Linked DNA regions of Homo sapiens: region 2 is linked to region 1. Evidence: promoter capture Hi-C in 16 types of primary human blood cells and fetal thymus (Javierre and others, 2016). All regions are on one chromosome and are shown on one strand. Each heading gives the region's core, a stretch centred on a gene start or on the middle of the fragment in contact. The rest is flanking DNA. Distances are from core to core; before and after follow the strand shown. Region 1 holds the start of NHLRC1 (NHL repeat containing E3 ubiquitin protein ligase 1). Region 2 has its middle 53 kb from the start of KIF13A.

Region 1 (4,897 bases), core at 2,398-4,897:
TAACTTTTGTAACTTCACTTCGGCCTCTCATTGGTTGCAGCAAGCAAAAGCAACCAATCAGACTGATTGCGGGCCACTACTTTATTTGCATGGGATGAATACCAAGTGGCCAGTGGGAAACCTCTAGGCAGTATTTGGACCCCAGAAGATTCTGTAACCAGGGCCCTTGAGCCACTGCTCAGCCAGGTCCCACCCTGTGGAGCACTTTCATTTTCAATAAATCTCTGCTTTTGTTACTTCATTCTTTCTCTGCTTTGCTGTGCATTTTGTCCAATTCTTTGTTCAAAAAGCCAAGAACCTGGACAACTTGTAGTCAAACCTTCTACTGGTAACAGTGTCACTAAATATTTTTCAAAAGCAAGATTTTTAAATAGCTGTATAATGTTGTAATGTGGCAGTACAATTATTATTTAGTCTTTCTCCTGCTATTAGAGTCAGCATTCATTCAGCAATTTAAGTACTATTGGGTGTGCTAGCAGATAAAGGTTTATTGATTATTGAAGATAATCCTTTTCTCAGGCATCACAGGTTGTAGGGGTAGGGACTGAACATTGAACTTCATATGGTATGGCTGTCTTAGGGGTACAGGCAGGGAGCTGTCAGCTTATAACTGGTCATTTAAACCACGAGGAAGTGAAGATGGCATTGCTCAGGGAAACAGGTAGGAAGCTAAGAGAAAAAGACTGAAGGTGGCACCCTGAGGAACACTCAATTGCATTGAACTTGAGATGCACTCAAATCTCTAGATCCCCATTTCCAAACATACATCTCCACTCATTTTTGTATGGACTTACTCAAAAAATTCAAAAACAGCCATTCTTCCTCTTGCCACCACATCCCTCACCCCTGAGATGCCAAGAACATGGAGCTTAAAAATTAGAGTGGTGGTCAGAGACGCCCCTGGGAGGAGGGCAAGGCTGGAAGCAAAGCCCATTCTGTGTGGCTTGTTCATCTTCCTTTCCCTTACATCATTGTCAGGTAGTCTGAGTTGTAATTGGATCATTAAACTTGTTCTGGGATTCCTTCTAAACTGCATGTGTCTGGCACATTTGCCCCACCTGCACAACCAGGAGCCCACCTGTCTAAGCACTGACTCCCCCTAACTCATGCTCCCCCTGTGCTCTCTTCTCTGCTGGAACCATCCTGAGCTGGGTCCCCACTCTCCTTCCACTATAGTATGGTACTTTTTCATAGGGCAGCCATTGACCACTTTGGAAACTAGACGTTCTGCTCTTCAAGCCCTTTGCCCCCACAACTCTCAGGGCTTGTTCTAGGTGGAAGCAGGAAAAGATGGGCATGCTAGTCCAGGACCCTCTATAGAAGGAATATCGGAGGGAAGCACAGGGTAAATCCATGGAGGCCCAGCCATGGAGGAGGAAATGATAGTCATAGGAAATGCCAAATGTCAGAGTGAGATTCAAGACATATTTGTTATTAATCAATTATGCAATGGTGTGATTGCATAAATAATGTGATTTTAGTTGGTTGTTTATTTGGGATGGAAATGTAGTCAGAAATTATTAAGTTGGTTATTGTGTCCCAGTACGCAATCTTTGAGTCAAATGACATTTGATTAGAAAATGTTCTTTCTTGTCTTACATTAAAGCTCTTTCCAGGGGCCTCAACAGGGGATAAAATATTGTGTTTTCTCAGAAATCTAGCAAATCAGAAGGTGAATGTTCATGATTATGATCTCTAAAGGAAAAGAAATTCTCTAATACAAGGTTTTGTTAAGCACAATGTTCACATAAGACATTTGAGGGAGAACCCCTTAAAAATAAGAGTTTAGGGCCAGGCACGGTGGCTCATGCCTGTAATCCTAGCACTTTGGGAGGCTGACGCGAAAGGTCAGAAGTTTGAGACCAGCCTGGCCAACATGGTGAAACCTCATCTCTACTAAAAATACAAAACTTAGCCAGGCATGGTCACGGGTGCCTGTAATCCCAGCTACTCAGGAGGCTGAGGTGGGAGAACCGCCTGAACCCAGGAGGTGGAGGCTGCAGTGAGCCGAGATCGCGCCACTGCACTCCAGCCTGGTGACAGAGCAAGACTCTGTCTCAAAAAGAAAAAAAAAAAAAAGAAAGAAAAAGAAAAATGAGAGATTATAATACCACAATGGATTCTTCACACAGATTATGCTATCCCTTGTTTGAAGATTTTCCAACATATGGCAAATTCTCTTTGTTTTTGGTCTTAACTGAGATTGGAAAAACTGAACTTAGTGTCATTTGAGGGAATTATTATAATGCAGTGTTTCTCAAACTTGGCTGTACATTATAATCACCTGGGGAGCTTTTATAAATCCCAGCTGTCCAGACCACACCATGGGCCAATTAAACTTTTCGGGTGCGACCCAGGTGTTTACCATGTGCAAAGAAGTTTGAAAATGACTAAAATAGGTAACTCTGAAGTCAAACTGCCTGGCTTCAAATTCCAGGCCAGCCACTTCCTAGCCATGTGACCCTGGGCAAGATATTTGATTTCTATGAATTCTATCAGAAAAAAAGACAATAAAAATAACATATTTTTGTAGGATTGCTATGAGGTTTAAACAAGATAATCTATGTAAATTATTTATTAATTTGCTGCAAAAGTAATCACGGTTTTGCCATTAAAAGTGATGGCAAACACTGCGAATCCTTTTCACCAACCTAACACAATGGGGCAGGCATATGTGAATTCCATAGGCTGGGCACAGTGGCTCACACCAGCACTTTGGGAGGCCAAGGGGTGGGGAGGAATGTGAACAATTTTCACAAGTTCAAGACCAGCCTAGGCAACATAGTGAGACCTCCTCTCTACAAAAAAATTAAAAAATTAGCCTAGTGTGATGGTGCATGCCTGTAGTCCCAGCTACTGAAGTGGGAGGATTGCTTGAGCCTGGGAGATGGAGGCTGCAGTGAGCTGTGATCGTGCCCCTGCACTCCAGCCTGGGTGACAGAGTGAGACTTTGTCTTAAAAAACAAAAAAATGAAGTTCTATGGTAATTATTATTAACTAACAGCTTTCTTATTTCATATTAATTACTCTGCAAGACACTTCCAGCATGGTTGCCCCATCTGACACTCATTCACCTCGTTGATTTTTTTTTGTTGTTGTTGTTGTTCTATAACATTCATTCATGCACAAATTCATTTTACAAGTATGTATTCATCTAACATTGACTTAACTATGAGTATGACAGAAGACACAAAAGAAATGTACACATCTGCCTCACCTCCCTTGGAGTTTATCTTCTCTAGTGTGTTCGTGTTTTCCGGTTCAGATCATAAGCATCATGAGCTAAGGGACCATGTTTTATGCCCGGACAGCCGTAGCACCCGGCGCTGCGGATTGGAGACACTGCTAGGCACCCGGGCTGGAAGATTGGGTTCTAGTTCTTGTTTTGCCGCTTACAGGCTGGGTGACAGGGAGCAATCCTGTTGTCCTCAATAGGTGTGTTTCCTCATCTGAAAGTGTACACAATCCATCCATGACTGCTGTGACGATTACAGGTCTACACAACGCGCATGTGGATTTGTCTTGCAAACGTCCACCATCAGGCCCTCAGGAAACAGTGCCGCGCGTGCCCACCAAGGGGCAGCAGATCGCAGTGCAGAGGCCCGCGGCGCTCGACGTCAGGGCGCACGTCCCACCCCGTGACCATGACTGTGACCGTGACCGAGAGCGTCGCTGGGGCACGGCCAGGCGGCGCGGCGGGAGTGCACAGGACGCGCCATGGCGGCCGAAGCCTCGGAGAGCGGGCCAGCGCTGCATGAGCTCATGCGCGAGGCGGAGATCAGCCTGCTCGAGTGCAAGGTGTGCTTTGAGAAGTTTGGCCACCGGCAGCAGCGGCGCCCGCGCAACCTGTCCTGCGGCCACGTGGTCTGCCTGGCCTGCGTGGCCGCCCTGGCGCACCCGCGCACTCTGGCCCTCGAGTGCCCATTCTGCAGGCGAGCTTGCCGGGGCTGCGACACCAGCGACTGCCTGCCGGTGCTGCACCTCATAGAGCTCCTGGGCTCAGCGCTTCGCCAGTCCCCGGCCGCCCATCGCGCCGCCCCCAGCGCCCCCGGAGCCCTCACCTGCCACCACACCTTCGGCGGCTGGGGGACCCTGGTCAACCCCACCGGACTGGCGCTTTGTCCCAAGACGGGGCGTGTCGTGGTGGTGCACGACGGCAGGAGGCGTGTCAAGATTTTTGACTCAGGGGGAGGATGCGCGCATCAGTTTGGAGAGAAGGGGGACGCTGCCCAAGACATTAGGTACCCTGTGGATGTCACCATCACCAACGACTGCCATGTGGTTGTCACTGACGCCGGCGATCGCTCCATCAAAGTGTTTGATTTTTTTGGCCAGATCAAGCTTGTCATTGGAGGCCAATTCTCCTTACCTTGGGGTGTGGAGACCACCCCTCAGAATGGGATTGTGGTAACTGATGCGGAGGCAGGGTCCCTGCACCTCCTGGACGTCGACTTCGCGGAAGGGGTCCTTCGGAGAACTGAAAGGTTGCAAGCTCATCTGTGCAATCCCCGAGGGGTGGCAGTGTCTTGGCTCACCGGGGCCATTGCGGTCCTGGAGCACCCCCTGGCCCTGGGGACTGGGGTTTGCAGCACCAGGGTGAAAGTGTTTAGCTCAAGTATGCAGCTTGTCGGCCAAGTGGATACCTTTGGGCTGAGCCTCTACTTTCCCTCCAAAATAACTGCCTCCGCTGTGACCTTTGATCACCAGGGAAATGTGATTGTTGCAGATACATCTGGTCCAGCTATCCTTTGCTTAGGAAAACCTGAGGAGTTTCCAGTACCGAAGCCCATGGTCACTCATGGTCTTTCGCATCCTGTGGCTCTTACCTTCACCAAGGAGAATTCTCTTCTTGTGCTGGACACAGCATCTCATTCTATAAAAGTCTATAAAGTTGACT
Region 2 (4,897 bases), core at 786-3,285, 82 kb after region 1:
GTTCCTGTAGCCCCACCCAGGAGAGTGGGGTTCCTGCCTGCTCTGTAGAGCAGGAGGCCTGGGTCTGCAGCTGCATTGGGCGGCTATAGCAGCACCCGGGGAGCTCCTGTCCCAACTCAGAAGGGGTGGGGCTCTCACCAGCTCCATGGAGTGTGCTGCCATCACAACTAGGTTTGTGTCCAGGATGGCCAAGCCAAGGAAAAGAAGGAGCAGAAACTATGAATATGCAGAAGAAACTCCCCTTGGGGAGAGGAGAGGATATAAGAAGAGAAGCAGGGGACCTAGCGTGTCCTAAGAGACCACAGGGAAAATGACAAAGGAAGAGAAGTGCTCTCTTTGTTGCAGGACTGGAGAGGCAGAGGTGGAGTGTCATTCAAAAAGCCATGTTAAATATCCTAACACAAACTTCTACTGGAAAATTTTAAAGTAATACAAAGTGCCAAATGTGAAGTTTCATGAATCTTGGCTGGCAGCAAACCACTGAGGATGATATGACCCTGGAAATCTATGTCAGAATCTCAGCTGGGTGAGGATGGAGCATGTGTGAAGTTGAAGTGCAGTTTTATCTAAGAGGGCAAAGGTTTAAAAAGATTGAGAAACTGGCCAGGCACGGTGGCTCACGCCTGTAATCTCAACACTTTGGGAGGCTGAGGCAGGTGGATCACCTGAGGTCAGGAGTTCAAGACCAGCCTGGCCAACATGGTGAAACTCCATCGCTACTAAAAATACAAAAAATTAGCCAGACGTGGTGGCACGTGCCTGTAATCCCAGCTACTTGGGAGGCTGAGGCAGGAATCACTTGAACCAGGAAGCGGAGGTTGCAGTGAGCTGAGATTGCGCCATTGCACTCCAGCCTGGGCAACAAGAGCGAAACTCCATCTCAAAAAAAAAAAAAAAAAAAAAAAAAAAAGATTGAGAAACTCTTCCCTTATACTTTCCTCACTTTTTCAATTCTCTGAATTCTCACTCTAATTTCCCTCTTGAAGATGCCCTTCTTTGATACCTGGGGAGCAGAGTAGAGCCTCTATAAGAGCTCTTTCTTCTATTTTAATGACATTGGTTTGCCTAAGAATGAAATATTAGTCCAAAAGTGAATGTGGACATTAATAATAGAGGCCAGTTATACCAAGCCAAGAAAAGCACTTAAAAAAAAAAACCAGCATTCAGAGGGAACAAATAATTTTAGCTGTCAAATCCAAAAATTGTGTATCTAACCCACTGAACTGTGGAATTTATTTTCTTACATAGCAAAAGATTCCTCAACTTAGTCAACAATCAGGCTACAAATTTCCGCATATCCATCTTTTTTTTTAAAGCAAAAAGTGTACATCAGTGTATTTAAAAAAATTTTTTTTATCTTCTGTAAATGTTATATTCTTAAATGTAAATTCTTAATGTAATGCACATCTTCAGGCCTATTAGAGAGAACACAAGGAACAAATTGCTCAGTGAAAAGCACATGAACTTCCATATTAGAAAGGAGTCCCAACTCTGACATCCCCCTCCTTTCTAGCTGTTTGATTTGGGAAGAAATTGGTTTAACGGTTTAACAACTGTCTTTTGGGTTTTTTTTTTGGTGGGAGGGACAGAGTCTAGCTCTGTAGCCCAGGCTGGAGGGCAGTGGTGCGATCTCAGCTCACTGTAACCTCTGCCTCCCAGGTTCAAACAATTCTTCTCCTCAGCCTGCTGAGTAGCTGGGACTACAGGTATACGCCACCACACCTGGCTAAGTTTTGTTGTTGTTGTTGTTGTGTTTTTGGGTTTTTTTTTTTTTTTTTTTGAGACAGAGTCTCACTCTGTCGCCCAGGCTGGAGTGCAGTGGTGCGATCTTGGCTCACTGCAAGCTCAGCCTCTTGGGTTCATGCCATTCTCCTACCTCAGCTTCTCAATAGCTGGGACTACAGGCGCCTGCCACCACGCCTGGCTAATTTTTTTGTATTTTTTTAGTAGAGATGGGGTTTCACTGTGTTAGCCAAGATGGTCTTGATCTCCTGACCTCATGATCTGCCTGCCTCGGCCTCCCAAAGTGCTGGGATTACAGGTGTGAGCCACTGCGCCCAGCCCATTTTTTGTATTTTAGTAGAAATGGAGTTTCACCATGTTGCCCAGGCTGGTGTCGAACTCCTGAGCTCAGGCAATCCACCCGCCTTAGCCTCCCAAAGTGCTAGGATTACAGGCATGAGCCACCGCACCTGGCTAACAAGTTTTTAATCTTCGATTTCTTGATCTATTGAATGTTTAGAGTATGACTTATTCATAGGGCTTTGGAGAAACAAAAATGAACTTTTTCAAAGGGTGAATATCACTCTCCATTTAGTTGTCCAAGTTAGAAACTTATGAATCATTCCTAATACCTCCTAGTCTCTCACTCTCCACGTGTAATCCAAAAGTAATCCAGTAGGTTCACCCTTCAAAATATATCTCAATTATTCCCCCTTGTCTCCATCACCACCACTGTTATTAGTCTTAGACGTCATGGTTTTTCACATTCACTGCTGCTCCCATCTCCAGACTGGTGTCTCCACTTGCTTTTCCCTCGGTCCCCAGTCTACCCCATATAGCAGCTCGTTTTTTAAAAGCATAAATCATACCATTCTTCTGCTTAATTCTGATGATGTCCCACTATAGATAGATAGATAATTTTTTTTTTCTTTGAGACAGAGTCTCACTCTCTCCCTCAGGCTGGAGTGCAGTGGTGTGATCTCAGCTCACTGCAACCTCTGCCTCTCAGGTTCAAGCGATTCTCATGCCTCAGCCTCCCAAATAGCTGGGATTACAGGCGCGTGCCACTACACCTGGCTAATTTGTGTATTTTCAGTAGAGATGGGGTTTCACCATGTTGGCCAGGCTGGTCTCAAACTCCTGACCTCAGGTGATCTGCCTGCCTCGGCCTCCCACCACTATAATTTTTAAATGACATCTTCACTGAGATATAATTCACATACCATAAAACTCGCCCTCTTACAGTATACAAATTAAAATACACAATGTGGTTTTAGTGTTTTCACAATGTTCAATCATAACCACTATCTAATTCCAGAACACTTTCATCACCCCAGAAAGAAACCCAATACTCATAAGTAGTTACTACTATTCCCACCCCTTCCAGCCCCTAACAAACACTAATCGATTTTCTCTCTCTATGGATTTGTCTGTTCTGGACATTTCATATAAATGGAATATTATAATACATGACTTTTGAGGTCTGGCTTCTTTCACTTAACATAATGCTTTCAAGATTGATCTGTGTGTCAGCATGTATTAGTACTTCATTTATTTTAATTGCCAAGTAATATTCCATTGTGTGGATATACCATATTTTGTTTATTCACTCATGAACATTTGGTTATTTTCACTTTTTGACTATTACAAATAATGCTATGAACATTCATGTGCACATTTTTGTGAGGACATGTATTTTCAATTATCTTGGGTATATTCATAAGAATAAAAATGCTGAGTCATATGGTAACTTTATGCTTAACTGTTTAAGCAACTGCCAAATAATTTTCCAAAGTAGCTGTACTATTTACAATCCCCCTAGCACTGAATGAGGGCTCCAATTTCTTCACATCCTCACAAACACTTGTTACCTGTCTTTTTGATTATAATAATTCATGCAGTAGTTTCTCACTGGGGTTTTGATTTGCATTTCCCTAATGACTAATGATGTTGAGCATTTTTTCATTGCTTATTAGTCATTTGTATATTTCTTTTTTTTCTCTCTCTTGAGACAGAGTCTCGCTCTGTCGCCCAGGCTAAAGTGCAATGGCATGATCTCAGGTCACTGCAGCCTCTGCCTCCTGGGTTCAAGCAATTCTCCTGCCTCAGCCTCCCAAGTAGCTGGGATTAGAGGTGTGCACCACTATGCCTGGCTAATTTTTTGTATTTTTAGTAGAGACAGGGTTTCACCATGTTGGCCAGGCTGGTCTCAAACCCCTTACCTCAAGTGATCCACTGCTTCGGCCTCCCAAAGTGCTGGGATTACAGGCGTGAGCCCCGTGCCCAACCTACATATTTATTTGAAGAAAATTCTATTCAAATATTTTGCTCATTTAAGAAACTGGGCTGGGCATAGTGGCTTACACCTGTAAACTCATCACTATGGGAGTCTGAGGCTGGATGATGGCTTGAGGCAAGGAGTTCAAGATCAGCTTGGGCAACATAGTGAGACCCTGTCTCTACAAAAAAAAAAAAAAAATTGCTGGGCATGATGGCATGTACCTGTAGCCCTAGCTATTCAAGAGGCTGAAACAGGAGGATCACTTGAGCCCAGGAGTTCAAGGTTACAGTGAACTATGATTGCATCACTGCACTCCAGCCTGGGCAACAGTGAGACCCTGTCTCAAAAATAAAAAGGGTTGTCTTTTTATTAAGTTGTAAGAGTTCTTTATATATTAGATATAATTTACTTAACACATATATTGTAAGCAAATATTTTCTTCCACTGTGTATCTTTTCACTTTCTTAACGATGGAGGTAGTTTTTACTTTTTCTTGCTTAATTTTTCTATGACCTTCAGCACAATGTTAAATGAAGTGGTAACAGTTTTAGCCATGTGTGGTGGTACACACCTGTAATCCCAGCTACTCAGGAGGCTGAGGTGGAAGGATTGCTTGAGTAGCAATTTGAGGCTGCAGTAAGCCATGATTGTGCCACTGCAGTTCATTCTGGGTGACAGAGCAAGACTCTGTCTCTAATTTTTAAAAGGTGGTTAAGAGTGAACGTCCCTGTCTTGTTCTTAATCTTAGAGGAAAAGCATTCAGTCTGTCATCATTAAGTCTGATGTTAGCTGTGGATTTTTTTTTTAATAGCTAAGCTTTATTATGTTGAGGAAATTCTCTTCTGCTTCTAGTTTGTTGAGAAATTTTATCTTAAAAGGGTGGTGAATTTTGTC

The links. Contacts are between HindIII fragments. The CHiCAGO score rates a contact against its expected background, and 5 or more counts as called.
Region 2: a fragment that was not itself captured here is called in contact with the fragment with the promoter of NHLRC1 in region 1 in 1 of 17 cell types (megakaryocytes); the score reaches 5.8 in megakaryocytes.

What each region holds. Positions count from the first base shown.
Region 1 is chr6:18,121,427-18,126,323 of GRCh38, reverse strand. NHLRC1 (NHL repeat containing E3 ubiquitin protein ligase 1) reads left to right here and starts at 3,647. Exons shown (of 1, transcript NM_198586.3): 1 at 3,647-4,897. The coding sequence starts at 3,718. The HindIII fragment of the contact is 6,107 bases long and covers 1-4,343 here.
Region 2 is chr6:18,037,820-18,042,716 of GRCh38, reverse strand. No RefSeq gene overlaps it. Among named protein-coding and RNA genes, the nearest start is that of KIF13A, 53 kb to the right of the region's middle. The HindIII fragment of the contact is 5,573 bases long and covers 1-4,821 here.